3 separate regions of the Homo sapiens genome follow, and regions 1 and 2 are each linked to region 3. Evidence: promoter capture Hi-C in 16 types of primary human blood cells and fetal thymus (Javierre and others, 2016). All regions are on one chromosome and are shown on one strand. The core of a region is centred on a gene start or on the middle of the fragment in contact, and the rest is flanking DNA. Distances in the headings are between cores, read along the strand shown. Region 1 has its middle 38 kb from the start of WDR19. Region 2 holds the start of WDR19 (WD repeat domain 19). Region 3 holds the start of FAM114A1 (family with sequence similarity 114 member A1).

Region 1 (4,390 bases), core at 1,175-3,674, 280 kb before region 3:
TTCCATTCATAGGTGATATACCTTCAAAGAATTGAAAACAGATGCTTAAATACTTGTACATGTATGTTCATAGCAGCACTATTCACAATAGCTAAGAGGAGGAAATCATCCAAATGTCCTTGAATAATGCTCTGTGGTATATACGATGGAATATTGTTCAGCCACAAGAAGAAATGAAGTAATGATTCATGCTACATCATAGATGAATCTTGAAAACATGCTAAATGAAAAAAGCCTGACACAAAGGGTCACACTGTATGATTCCATTTATATGACATATTCAGAATAGGTAGATTTCTAGAAATAGAAACCATATTGGTGGTTGCTGGGGCTGAGAGGAAGGAAGAATGGGGAGTAAGTGCTAAATGGGTATGGGTATTTCTTTTGGGATGATGAAAACCTTTTGGAACTAGATGTATTGCTTGCACAACAGTATGAATGTACTGGATGCTACTGAATTGTTCACTTTAAAATGGTTAATTTTATGAGATGTGAATTTTGCCTTAATTAAAAAAAAACCTATCTACAAACATTAAATCTTTACTTTTAATTTTTCTTGATTAAAGAAAACTAGCTTTTCGGCTGGGTGCGGTGGCTCACACCTGTAATCCCAGAACTTTGGGAGGCCAAGGCAGGTGGATCACGAGGTCAGGAGTTCGAGACCAGCCTGGCCAACACGGTGAAACCCTGTCTCTTCCAAAAATACAAAAAAATTAGTGGTGCGTGGTGGCAGGCGCCTGTAATCCCAGCTACTCGGGAGGCTGAGGCAGAGTATCACTTGAACCCGGGAGGCAGAGGTTGCAGTGAGCCAAGATTGCACCACTGTACTCTAGCCTGGGTGACAGAGTAAGACTCTGTCTCAAACAAAAACAAAAACAAAAACAAAGCAAAACAAACAAACAAAAAACCTCAAAAAACTAGCTTTTCTGGAAATCAGATTAAAACTTGTCATAAAACACCTGTTGAATTAACTTAATTCTGTGATCCAGGCTTTTTGTTTGTCTCATAACCAGCCTTAGATAGAAGCTGTGACTTGCCCACATTCTGAATACATCTAAGAAGATACTGTATCTGGAAATTTTAATTTTTTTTTAAGTCTGTGTTTAGGTCTTCACTGGGGAGCACTCAGGGACCAAGGGATATCCCTTGTCTCAATAATTCATGCTGGTGATTTCAAAACTTCTGGCCATGTCTTCTGAGGCTAAAAATATTGAAGATACTGCCTTCCCCAAAAGGACAGAGGAGAAGCATGCCAAAAGGAGGAAAGGAAGTTACCATATCAAAAAGATACCTGCACACATATGTGTGTTGCAGCACAATTCACAATTGCAGATATGGAGTCAACCAAGGTGCCCATCAGCTTGTGGATAAAGGAAAGTGTGATGTATATAGGCCAAGCACAGTGGCTCATGCCTGTAGTCCAGCACTTTGGGAGGCTGAGGCAGAAGGATCCCTTGAAGCCAGGAGTTTGAGACCAGCCTGGACAACAAAGTGAGACCCTGTCTCTATTTTTTTTAAGTGGTGTATATATACCATGGAATACTACTAAGCCATAAAAAGAACCAAATAATGTATTTTCAGCTATTTGGATGGAACTGGAGGCCATTATCCTAAGTGAAGTAACACAGGGACAAAAAACCAAATACCGCATGTTTTCACAAGTGGGAACTAAGCTATGGGTAAGCAAAGGTATACAGAGTGCTATAATGGACACTGGAGACTCAGAAATGGGGAGGATGGGCCGGGCGCGGTGGCTCACACCTGTAATCCTAACACTTCGGGAGGCTGAGGCAGGTGTCTCACTTGAGATCAGGGGTTCAAAACCAGCCTGGCCAACATGGTGAAATCCTGTCTCTACTAAAAGTACAAAAAAATTAGCTGGGCATGGTGGCGCGTGCCTGTAATCTCGGCTACTCGGGAGGTTGAGGCAGGAGAATCGCTTGAACCTGGGAGATGGAGGTTGCAGTGAGCCAGGATCATGCCACAGCACTCCAGCCTGGGTGACAGAGCGAGACTCTGTCTCAAAAATAAATAAATAAATAAGAAAGGGGGAGGAGGGTGGAAGGGGGATGAGGGGTGAAAAACTACCTATTGGGTACAATGTACACTATTGGGGCGACTGGTGCACTAAAAGCCCAGAATTCACCACTCATCATCCATGGAACCCATAACCATTCCTACCCCTAAAGCTAATGAAATAAAAAAAGTTTTTTAAAAATTAAGAGAATAAGAAAAATCAGCATAAGAGATGTGAAAATGTTACAAGTAGCTAGAGACTTCAGGTTTTGAAAACATACCAGAAATCTAGATTTTTCTTCACAAAAAGATATAAGGATACTCTAGTGGTATTTAAAAATGCCAAACAAGGCCGGACACGGTGGCTCACGCCTGTAATCCCAGCACTTTGGGAGGCCGAGGCGGGCAGATCACGAGGTCAGGAGATCGAGACCATCCTGGTTAAAATGGTGAAACCCCGTCTCTACTAAAAATACAAAAAATTAGCCGGGCATGGTGGTGGGTGCCTGTAGTCCCAGCTACTTGGGTGGCTGAGGCAGGAGAATGGCGTGAACCTGGGAGGCAGAGCTTGCAGTGAGCTGAGATCGCACCACTGCACTCCAGCATGGGCGACACAGCGAGACTCCATCTCTAAACAAACAAACAAACAAACAAAAAAACCACACACACACACAAAAACTAAGGCCAAACAATGGATATAATATTTGGAACCTAGAAAAAGTTGTTATTGTTTGAGAAATAATCTTCTGGAGGAGTGAAAATGGTGGGCAAGTAATATAACTGATTTACTGAAACATTCTGTGATAAACACTCAGGATCTGACAGGTTGAGGAATGATCAAGGGCCCTGAAACCTGTCCTTAGATTTCTTCTATGTGATACCCATACCCTTAGAAGGTTGGCAAGTATAACACAGAGCTAAGGCCTTAACACACTTTGGTTCCATCAGGTCTTTGAAACTCTGTGGCTAGCACTGAATGCAGAACACATTTTTATCTTCCTGGTTAATATATTAAAAATACGCTGTTCATAGGAAATACTGCCATATTGCTATGGCAATACATAGGGAGTGGCCACCATACATGCCAAACAGCTAGCAATTCCCTCCCCTGCTCCCCTGCTCGTCTTTGTATCTTCAAACAAGTCACCTTAAATATAAAGATTTAATGTGTGTACGTGGGCTTTTTTTCTTTTCTTATGAAATAATGATAGATTTATAGGAGGTTGCAAAGAAATGTCCAGGAAATTCTCATGTACCTTTTTCTCAGCCTCCTAAATATTAGCATCATACACAACTGTAAAATAATATCAAAACCAAGAAATTGACACTGGTCCAATCCATACAGTTTAATCAGATTTCACCAGTTACATATGCACTTGTGTGTGTGTGTGTGTGTAACTTTATACACTTTTACCACATCCATAGCCTTGCATAACCACCACCACAATCAAGAGACTATACTACCATCACCACAAGACTCCCTAGAGCTATCCCTCTACAGCCACATTCATCCTCTCTCCATATCTCTAACCTCTGACAATCCCTAATCTGTTCTTCATCTCTGTAATTATGTTATTTTTTTGGATGTTACATAAATAGAACTATGTCGTATGCACCATTTTTGAGACTGGCTTTTTTTTTTTTTTCACTCAGCATAATTTCCTTGAGGTTCTTCCAAGTTGTTGCCTGTGTGAAAGGTTTGTTCCATTTTATGGCTGGATCGTATTCCATGGTATGGATGTCCCATAGGTTCTTTAACCATTCACCATTACAGGACATTTGGGTAGTTCCTAGTGTTGGGCTGTTATGAATGAAGGTGCTGGGAGTCAGTCTTCATTTTCTCTGGTACACCATGAGTGACACCACGAGTGCCCTTGCTGGATCATAGGATGAGTCCATGCTTAGTTTCAAAAGGAACAGCTGGGTGCTTCTCCAGAGTGGATGCAGTCTTTTAAGAGAGAAAATACTCTTTCAGAAGTACTGACTTTACCGAAGAAGTCTCCCACATTTCTCTAAATAAATCTTTTTTTTTTTTTTTGAGACAGAGTTTTGCTCTTGTCGCTCAGCTGGAGTGCAATGGCGCGATCTCAGCTCACTGCAACCTCCGCTTCCCAGGTTCAAGCAATTCTCTTGCCTCAGCCTCCGGAGTAGCTAGGATTACAGGCGCCCGCCACCACGCCCAGCTAATTTTTGTATAAATAAATCAATTTTTAAAAGAAAAGGGAAATACAATTATTTTCTTAAAATGTTGAGTTTGAATATACTGTATTTTAAATTTTATTTGGAACTCAGACATTTTATTTTTCTAATATCTCTGTCATGATTCAGATGTTGTCAAAAAGCAGTTGATCCTGTGTAGTTTGTGATTTCACGG
Region 2 (4,415 bases), core at 451-2,950, 310 kb before region 3:
CACCATGTTGGCCAGGCTGGTGTCGAACTCCTGACCTCAAGTGATCCACCTGCCTCGGCGTCCCAAAGTGCTGGGATTACAGGCGTGAGCCACCGCACCCTGTCCCAATGAGCATTTTACATGCTAAAGAAGAAATTCCCCTCTATTGAAAGTAGAGGTGGGCTATGATCATGGGACATAAAAGTTTTATAGAGCATAAAGAAACTCATGAAGAAAGAATATTTAAAAGCATCTTACTTTTGCAATTTTGTGACCATTTCACCCTGGAACTCCTTCATGCAAGTGAGAAGTCCTTAAACTTGAATTTCATTACCTTCAATGGCTGACTTGCCTCTAGCTGTGATTTCATATTATTTTTTTTCAGTGGAGCTCTATAGATGCTCCACATACCGTGCAGAGGAAAAACTGCTAGTTTCACAACCAAAAAACCAAGACTTAAATTTTGTTTGTAGCTTATTAGCTGTAGGGCTTTAAGTAAGTCGTTTAAATTGCCTCCAGCAAAAAATTCTCAACTGTAAATCATGAATAATAACTCTTCACTTCTAATATTTCATAAATTGTAAAGAGCTTTAGAAATAAAAATGGGAGTTATGATTACTGGTCCGTCAATTCCAATTTCCACACTAATAGCCACGAAGAAGCATGAGGACATCTAAAATAATTTTAAAATTGAGCCTTCCAGCCGGGCGCGGTGGCTCACGCCTGTAATCTCAGCACTTTGGGAGCCCGAGGTCGGGGGATCATGAGGTCAGGAGAGTGACAGCATCCTGGCTAACACGGTGAAACCCCATCTCTACTAAAAATACAAAAAATTAGCTGGGTGTGGTGGCACGCGCCTGTAGTCCCAGCTACTCGGGGGGCTGAGGCAGGAGAATCGCTTGAACCCAGGAGGTGGAGGTTGCAGGGAGCAGAGATTGCGCCACTGCACTCCAGCCTGGGTAACAGAGCGAGACTCAGTAAAAAAAAAAAAAAAAAAAAGCCTTCCATTTCTTTGCCAGAGCAGAGCAAGGGGGGACTGCTCTGATAAATCAGAAAGTGGGGTGAACAAGAAGCCCAAGCCTAGAAACCGTGCGTGCAGAGGATGAGGCACATGAGCGTGAGACCTGAGTTTTCGGGTGCAGATTTCCCGTCAATAATGTACACTCGCTAGCAGGTGATTGGACTGGTCACAGGTAATACATTTTGAAGTTATTCTTTAGGAGGCTTTTCATTCTTTTTAAGGCGCTGGGCAGCTGCGCGGCTTGCCAGAGGCTTAGCCCCAAGAAATGAGGTAGCTCGTGACATCGGACCCAGTCAACTTCACAGCGACCCTCCAAACGCGTTAACTCGACCAGTTCTTTCCGCGTGCGAAGCTGGGGTATCTTTAGATCCAGTCCGCTCATTTCGGCCAGGGAGGGGTTCCCACTTTCTGCACCGCTTCTACGGCGTCTGCAGTCCCCAAAACGAGAGGCCTCTCTCTCCGCCCTCTCCTCTCCTCCTATTTTCTTTCCTTTCTCTCGTCCCTTCAGCTTCGCCCCCGCTCTCTCTGGCCACCTCTCTCTCTCTCTCTCTTCCTCATTTCCAACGAACTCAGAAGGGAGAGGGACAGATATCCTCTTTTAAAAGCGACCAAGGGCCAGTAGTCGCGTTTTCCCGCCCCACCCCGGGAATTTGTAAGTTATTTACCTTCATCTCCACGCTCGAGCCGCTACGCGAACTATGAAGTACGCAGGCGCACCCGGTCTCCACCAAGCAGGCTACCGCGTTCCCGTCACCCAGGAGACCGCGCGAGCAGCGACCAATCAGCGAGTGCTAATTGAAAGGCGGTGCCTCGAGGGGCCGGGCCAAGCGCACCGCCCTCTGCGAGGGTGGGTGAGAGGCGGAGGGTGGAATCACATGACATCAGAGACGCTAACCCTGGGAAGTTGGGCGTCGCGAGGCCTTGCTGAGCCTCGGCTTCCTGGCTGGCTCTGATTGGATGAGATTCGTCCGGGAGAGACGGGCTCTGTGAGCCCTCAAAGGCGCGTGCGTAAATTTTGGACCGCGATGACTAAGATGTCAGTGCTGGCCAAAGGGGGCGCCGAGAAGCTGAAGGAAAGAAGACGCAGAATGTTAGATTAAAGGAGGCAGGATGGGCTAAATACTCCTATACAGTCCACGCAAAGAGGGGTTGGACGAGCTCGGGTATATCTTTTTTTCTTCCAGGTTTCTGGGGTAGAAGGGAGGAGGCATAAGAGGTACAATAGTTTATTTCAAGGTAGGGTTGTTGGTGCTTTTTTTTTTTCAGTTTCACCAAAATCTTTTTTTTTTTTCAATGTCAACAAAATGTGCTAGCTAACGTGGGCAGGAAAAATGAGCTCCAATAGTTTTCCTTTAGAGTTTGGATCTGGCAGCTTTTCCCCAAGTATAAAGCCCTGTTGTACAGTATTTGTGCTGCATTATTTATAGCATGAAAGTGCATCTTTTACCCAAGCGTCTGAAAGTGTTGAAACAGTCTACCTTTTGCTTTTCTTTTCGACATCAGGTAGGAATCTGATTGGCTTAGAGAAAGTTAATCAATGATTTGAAATAACTAATAATGAATGTTTGCAAATTCTTAAGTAGGGTGCTATGCCTTTGCACTGGGGTTTTCAGTTACGTTACGACAGGGGTCCGGATCCAGACCCCAAGAGAGGGTTCTTGGATCGCGCGCAAGAAAGAATTCAGGGCGAGTTCTCAGTGCTGAGAAAAGCAAGTTTATTAAAACACGTAAAGTGGTGAAAGGACAGCTACTCCATAGACAGAGTAGGACATTCCTGAAAGCAAGAGAAGGGACGCATCCACCCTAGGTACAATGCTTGTATATATGGGGAGATGTGCTCTGCTACAAGGGTTTGTGATCAAAGATTAATTTTCTTAATTATTTTGCAGGAATTGATATTATTATCTTTAAAGCAAAATTAGGAATGCCTTTGTTCTCCAGATATCCCGATATCTGGGTCTGTTTTAGTAAACATTATTAATTTATTCCCTTAATCGTAAACATCTAGAGGCGAGGAATGCCCAAATTCTGAGAATTCAGCCCAGCAAGTCTCAGCCTCATTTTCCTAGCCCTCACTCAAAATGGAATCGCTCTGGTTCAAACGCCTCTGACAGTTAGGTTAATTACTTAAATTTTTACTGAAAGATTCCTCTGCTGAAAGGGTAACCATTTAAAAATAGCCAGAGCAATCAGTTCTTAACAAGACCTGCCCTCAGGAGAAAGTATTTTTACCAAAGCCTAGTCTGCTGGGGTTTTATCAGAGCCTAAACTACCTGGGAGAAGGGAAATACTCAACTTCAGCCTCCATAAACCATCCTGTTCCACTTAAGTGTGGGAGATTAAGAAGTATTGGCGGGCGCCTGTAGTCCCAGCTACGCGGGAGGCTGAGGCCGGAGAACGGCGTGAACCCGGGAGGCGGAGCTTGCAGTGAGCGGAGATCGCGCCACTGCACTCCAGCCTGGGCGATAGAGCGAGACTCCGTCAAAAAAAACAGCAAAAAGAAGTATTGGTGGCCAGGCTCAGTGGCTCACGCCTGTAATCTCAGCACTTGGGGAGTTCGAGGTGGGGGGCTCACTTGAGGTCAGGAGTTCAGGACCAGCCTGGCCAACATGGTGAAACCCCGTCTTTACTAAAATACAAAAAATTAGCTGTGCATGGTGGTGGGCACCTGTAGTCCCAGCTGCTCGGGAGGCTGAGGCAGGGGAATCGCTTGAACCCGGGAGGGGGAGGTTGCAGTGAGCCTAGATCGTGCCACTGCACTCCAGCCTGGCGACAGAGCAAGGCAAGACTCTGCTCAAAAAAAAAAAAAAAAAAAAAAAATTAGCCTGGCGTGGTGGCACATGCCTGTAATCCCAGCTACTCGGGAGGCCGAGGCATGAGACTCGCTTGAACCTGGGAGGCAGAGGTTGCAATGAGCCGAGATTGTGCCACTGCACTCCAGCCTGGTGACGGAGCTAGACTTCGTCTCAAAAAAAAAAGGAAGTACTGGTGACTTTTACCATCCACACCGGCTCACTAAAGGCTGAGGCCTAATCATAGGACTATAGAACACTTGCCCTATCCTGTACCTTACCACATACCACTAAAAGACTACTTACAAGTATTCCTTTTATCCAGTATATCCTGTCTGGTGTCTTAGTTGTTTTCTGTTGTTTATGACAGAATACATAAAACCGGGTAATTTATAAAGAAAAGGAACTCATTTGTCATAGTTAGGGAGACTGAGAAGTCCAAGGTCAAGGGAGTGCATCTGGTGAGATCCTTCTTGCTGGTGCGGACTCTCTGAAGAGTCCTGAGGCAGCACAGGATATCACATGGCAAGGAGGCTGAGTGTGCTAACGTTCTAGCTAAGGTCTCCTTATAAAGCCACCAATTTCACTCCCATGATAACCCACTAATTCATTAACCCATTAAT
Region 3 (4,741 bases), core at 1,455-3,954:
AACTATGCAAGGTATTTAAGCAGCAACATCACAGCTCCAAAAATAAGTATAAAACAGAAGACATGGTCACTATCCTTCAGAAATCAATCATCTGTTTGAGGAGCTAACACAAAACAGTTAAAAAGTGATGCAAAACAGCACAGCAAATCAAGGACAGATGTGCCTGAACTAGACTGACCCTGTGCAAGGGAGAATCTTGAAAGTGTCTTTGATGTGGTGATTCAGGCCTGGTGGGATGAGAGCATGTGCAAATGTCCAAGCATCAGCGATGGACTGTAGTGATTCAGGACAGGTGTCTGAGAGGCCAGGACATGAGGCTGCATGGAGGAATGATGAGAGGTGGGAGCGATGGTATTCTGAGGTGGAAAGAGTTGTGTCCTGCAGGCGTCAAGGGATGTGGCCTCTGGTCCCAGTATCCCTTTGTGGGCACACAACTTGATCCTCACTGTGCTTACACCTGCTCCTCTGTAAAGCTAGGATGGACAAACTGATCTGGATGCTTTTTTTTCCAAACTCCACCTGCAGGACTGGGGCAAGTCTGTGATGATAGAGAAAAATGAGGACAAGATTGCAAGTTTTTCATAAATCTAAATTTATTAAATGTAAAGGACTGCCTTCATCTTTCAAGTTTAGCCTTTGTGCTTTTTCTTGGTATTAAAATGTCTTTCATTTTATGAAATAGTGACAGTGGATGGATTTTTTTAAAAAAAATGGCCTGACTTGGCAGCATAAAAATTTGGTTAGCATGATATCCTGTGTGAGGTCATCTCCCCCAGTTAAAAAAAAAAAACAAAAACAGTGCCAGTCAGCGAAGGACCAGGAATAAAAACTCTGGATGAGAGGCTCTTAATCAGGTTGTAGCAGTTTGTATGAGTTTGTATAAAGCTTGACAAGTCTACGTACCCAGGCTCCAGCCTATTCTCTGTGAGGCTGCCAGGCATTTTTGGACCTATTTGCTCTCCTGTTCAAAAACCATTAGGTGTAAATATCTTCACACTTCCCATCATAATCCAGCTCCAATCTCTCTCCACCTCTTGCAACTCTCAGTATCCTCCACTCCTGCCTCACCAGTCTTTTCTCCATTCCCCATAACTCTTCACATCTCCCTGCCTTTGCTTACGCTGGTTCCTCTGCCCCGGTGCTGCCCTTCCTCCAGCTGCCTGGCAAACTCCTATTCCTCTAGACACCCAGTGTCTAATGTTACCTTTCATTCTGAATTTTTCCTTAATCTGCCCCACTGCTTCCAATGAAATAACTGCTACCTCTTCTATGTTTTTGGCACTTTGCACAGATTTCTATTCCATGTATTTATGGAGTATTTACTTCTGCCATTCTGTCCTCCAAGACTGTGACCAACAGCACCTAGGTTGGTTTCTGTCCCTCAGATATTTACTGAATTGAAATACATTGTGTTTGATATTAATAAAAGAGAAACCATGTTTGATGTAAGCCTGGTCAAATAAACAAAGACAAGTTTACTTTTATGGTCTGAATCGCTCAGATTCAAGAAAGCCCCCTCCAACCCTCAAATTCCTTCTGCACTGTCTCACTTGTGCCTCAAATCCATCCCTAACGTCTCATTCCTTCACTTAAAGGTTACAATGTAAGAAGTTTATCAGATTCTTTCCCAAGCTCAGGCTTGATGGAAGAAAGGAGGGCGGGGACGCAGGCCTATGGGTGGGGTAGGGAAGGAGCCACTAGGCTGCAGAGAGGGCAAAAAGAGGCTCTGAGGATAGAGCCTGTCTCATTCTCAGTTGTCACAGGTTGGCTGAGGTCACAGGGAGTTCAGAGCACACTGATTTAAGAAGCCACCTGCCTGTGTCCTTCAAGATGTTTAGGATGGGAAATGATGGGATCAGTAGGGCATAGGTAATGCTCTCACAGCCCATAGAGAGATGTCTTCCTACTTAAGAAAAGGCAGTGACGTTCAGGCGCCTGGTCTGAGGTGCCTGGAAATACTCACCGGATGGCAGAGGCGAGGGCTAGCCGACTGGGTGGAGGGGGCCTGGGGATCTGCGGTAGGGAGTGGGACCCATCCCGGGGGCTGCGAGTGGAGGCGGTGCCTGCTTAGAGTGTTGGCTGGACTGGAAGAGCAGGCAGGGCGTGGGTCGGCTGTTGGGGGAGGAGTAAGGCGAGGGGAGCGGGGAGGTCAAGGCCTGAGCTCCCTGTGCCAAGGCCGAGGGCAGGCGCACCCTGGGACGAGGCCTCTGTCTTACAGGGACCTGCTCCCTTCGTGCCCGGGCTGGGGGACCCTGCAGCCCACCTCTGACTTGGCCCCGAGCCATTGGGGGCACTTTTCCAGACTTGCTTGGTGCCAGGACTGGATACTTTGGGAGATCCAGGCAGGCTCCGCGGAGGTTCACGCAGGCCGAGGGGGCAGACCCTGAGTGTGGGCGTGTGGGTGTGTGCATGAGCGTGGACCCGGAGCGACACACACTCACACACACACACTCACACGCCCGCACCCACGCAGGTCCCTCGGCCGCGCCGCCCCAGACCCTCACCCCAGAGCCGGGTCCTCCCTGACCACTGCTTCTCACTAACGCAGAGGGCAGGATTCGTGGGTCCCGGACGAGGCGCCAAGGTATGGTGTTCCCACCACCCCCGGGCAGCCGCCCCCGCGCTCGCCCGCCCCCCGGGGAAGGGGATGGGGACCGAGTGCCCGGGGCTCTTACCGCTCAGGCGGCCGAGTACGCGCGGGAGTGCCCAGCGGGTCCCGCCCCGCCACGTCTGCAGGGCCGGCGGGGACGCGGCCGGAGGGCGGGCGGCTGGAGAGGGGGCCCCGCCCCGCCTGCGCCCCGCCCCACGAGGAGCGCCGCGGGGACGCCCGGCCACCCCCACGCTGCGAGGGCCGGGCCCGCGCTGGGCGAGTCTCCTGGAAACTTGGCTTGTCCCACCCCTGTGCCAGCGCGGAAAGCCAGAGCGCGCCGCCTCTCCAGCCCAGGGCGGGTGGGTCTCGGGGTTCGCCAGATCCCTTTCCTTTCCTTAAAAGGGCTTGGAAAACCCCCCGCCGTGTCACTGGGAAGAGGTCGCTCAAATTCAGCTAAAGTTTGATCTCCTGATTCTGCGTTAAGCAGCACTCCCTTGCCCTGTCGGTGGGAGTGTGATAGATTTAAAACAAACAAACCCCAAACAAACAACGAAAACCCACTTTCCAGAAGGCCAGTTTGGAGCTGTGGGTTAAAACTCCGATGTATTAGCTTTGGCCTAGGAATTCCACATTTGTGAATTTGTCCTAAGTAGGCAGTCAAATGGGCAAATATGTATGTACAAGGATGTTTGTTGTAGTTGTTTCTGCGGGGGGAAGCCGGAGACAATCTCAATGTCCCCCAGTAAGATTGGTGAAGTAAGCTACAGTAACTTCAGACATCGAATATGTTGTAGCCCTTAAAAATGAGGATTCGTTGACATGGAGGGAAGGCCACATATGAAGGCCTTCCTCAAATATGGCTTAATATGAACTCAGATGCGGAGGAAGCGCAGTGTTTATAGTATTAACTAGTTTTGTAAACAATTTTGTATTTTCTATAAAAGTCGGAGGAAATACAATTTAAAAATAGTGATTCTTTCTGAGCGATGTGTTTAAGGCAGATTTTCTCCTCTCTCACTCCATCCCTTCTTCTTTTTGAAGAATTATAAATTCAAAGTTAAAGAAAAAATAGCCCTAGTCTCTCCCTTTCAATATCACTACCATTTTTTATAGTGTGTGGATCCTACCATAGTTTTTCTAAGCTTATATAAATACATGTATGCATAAACAGCTTTTTGTTTGCTTTTTTATAAAAATGGCGAGATGTTGACGTATTTTGTAAATTTCCCCCTATTTATTATATATTATAATCATCTTTCTTGGTCAATACATATCAACCAAAACCACTCTTCTAAGACTTGTCTTATATATTGCAATATGTTTGTAATTATATTTCATTCAATCATTCTCCTATTGACAATTAGTTTGCTCCTTATATTCCAGTTTCTTCCATATATATATTAATTAATTTATTAATTCATTTTTTTGAGATGGAGTCTTGCTCTGTCGTCCAGGCTGGAAAGCAGTGGCGTGATCTCAGCTCACTGCAGCCTCTGCTTACTGGGTTCAAGCAATTCTCCTGCCTCAGCCTCTTGAGTAGCTGGGATTACAGGTGCGTGCCACCACACCCGGCTAATTTTTGTATTTTTTAGTAGAGACGGGGTTTCACCATGTTGGCCAGGCTGGTCTCGAACTCCTGACCTCAGGTGATCCACCCACCTCGGCCTCCCAAAGTGCTGGGATTACAGGCATGAGCCACCGTGCCTGGCTATATTTCTTATTTAATATTTTTATTAAATATTTTTATATTAATAATTTTTTAAGCTACTGAATATTTATTTTATTTTATTTTTTAGGAGGACAGAGTCTTGATCTGTGGCCTAGGCTGCAGTGCAGTGGCACCATCTCCATCTCCTGGGTTCAAGCGATTCTTCTGCCTCAGCCTCTTGAGTAGCTGGGATTACAGGTGCGTGCCACCACACCCGGCTAATTTTTGTGTTTTCAGTAGAGACAGGGTTTTGCCATGGTGGCAAGGCTGGTCTCGAACTCCTGACCTCAAGTGATCTGCCCACCTCGGCCTCCCAAAGTGTTGGGATTACAGGCGTGAGCCACCACACCCAGCCTGTCATTTTTAAATTCATAGAAAAACCAGAAAGTTATCTTAATGTGAGAGTGGGTGGAAACTGCTTTAAATTGAGATCAATAGCCTTT

What was found. The method cuts DNA at HindIII sites, captures the fragments that hold promoters and counts their contacts. A CHiCAGO score of 5 or more calls a contact.
Region 1: a fragment that was not itself captured here is called in contact with the fragment with the promoter of FAM114A1 in region 3 in 3 of 17 cell types (megakaryocytes, M2 macrophages and naive CD8 T cells); the score reaches 6.4 in megakaryocytes.
Region 2: the fragment with the promoter of WDR19 here is called in contact with the fragment with the promoter of FAM114A1 in region 3 in 9 of 17 cell types (neutrophils, activated CD4 T cells, M1 macrophages and 6 more); the score reaches 7.6 in neutrophils.

Annotation. Positions count from the first base shown.
Region 1 is chr4:39,142,059-39,146,448 of GRCh38, reverse strand. It overlaps a transcript of KLHL5 not described here. Among named protein-coding and RNA genes, the nearest start is that of WDR19, 38 kb to the left of the region's middle. The HindIII fragment of the contact is 5,960 bases long and covers 1-4,390 here.
Region 2 is chr4:39,179,814-39,184,228 of GRCh38, reverse strand. It overlaps WDR19 (WD repeat domain 19), which reads right to left and starts at 1,700. Exons shown (of 37, transcript NM_025132.4): 1 at 1,666-1,700. The coding sequence starts at 1,671. RefSeq lists enhancers at 662-731, 1,432-1,581, 1,706-2,000, 1,852-2,031. The HindIII fragment of the contact is 13,594 bases long and covers 1-4,415 here.
Region 3 is chr4:38,865,769-38,870,509 of GRCh38, reverse strand. It overlaps FAM114A1 (family with sequence similarity 114 member A1), which reads right to left and starts at 2,704. Exons shown (of 15, transcript NM_138389.4): 1 at 2,676-2,704; 2 at 1,964-2,112. It overlaps MIR574 (microRNA 574), which reads right to left and starts at 2,478; the gene lies at 2,383-2,478. It also overlaps a transcript of TLR6 not described here. RefSeq lists an enhancer at 1,570-2,153 and silencers at 2,361-2,410, 2,461-2,940. The HindIII fragment of the contact is 2,847 bases long and covers 888-3,734 here.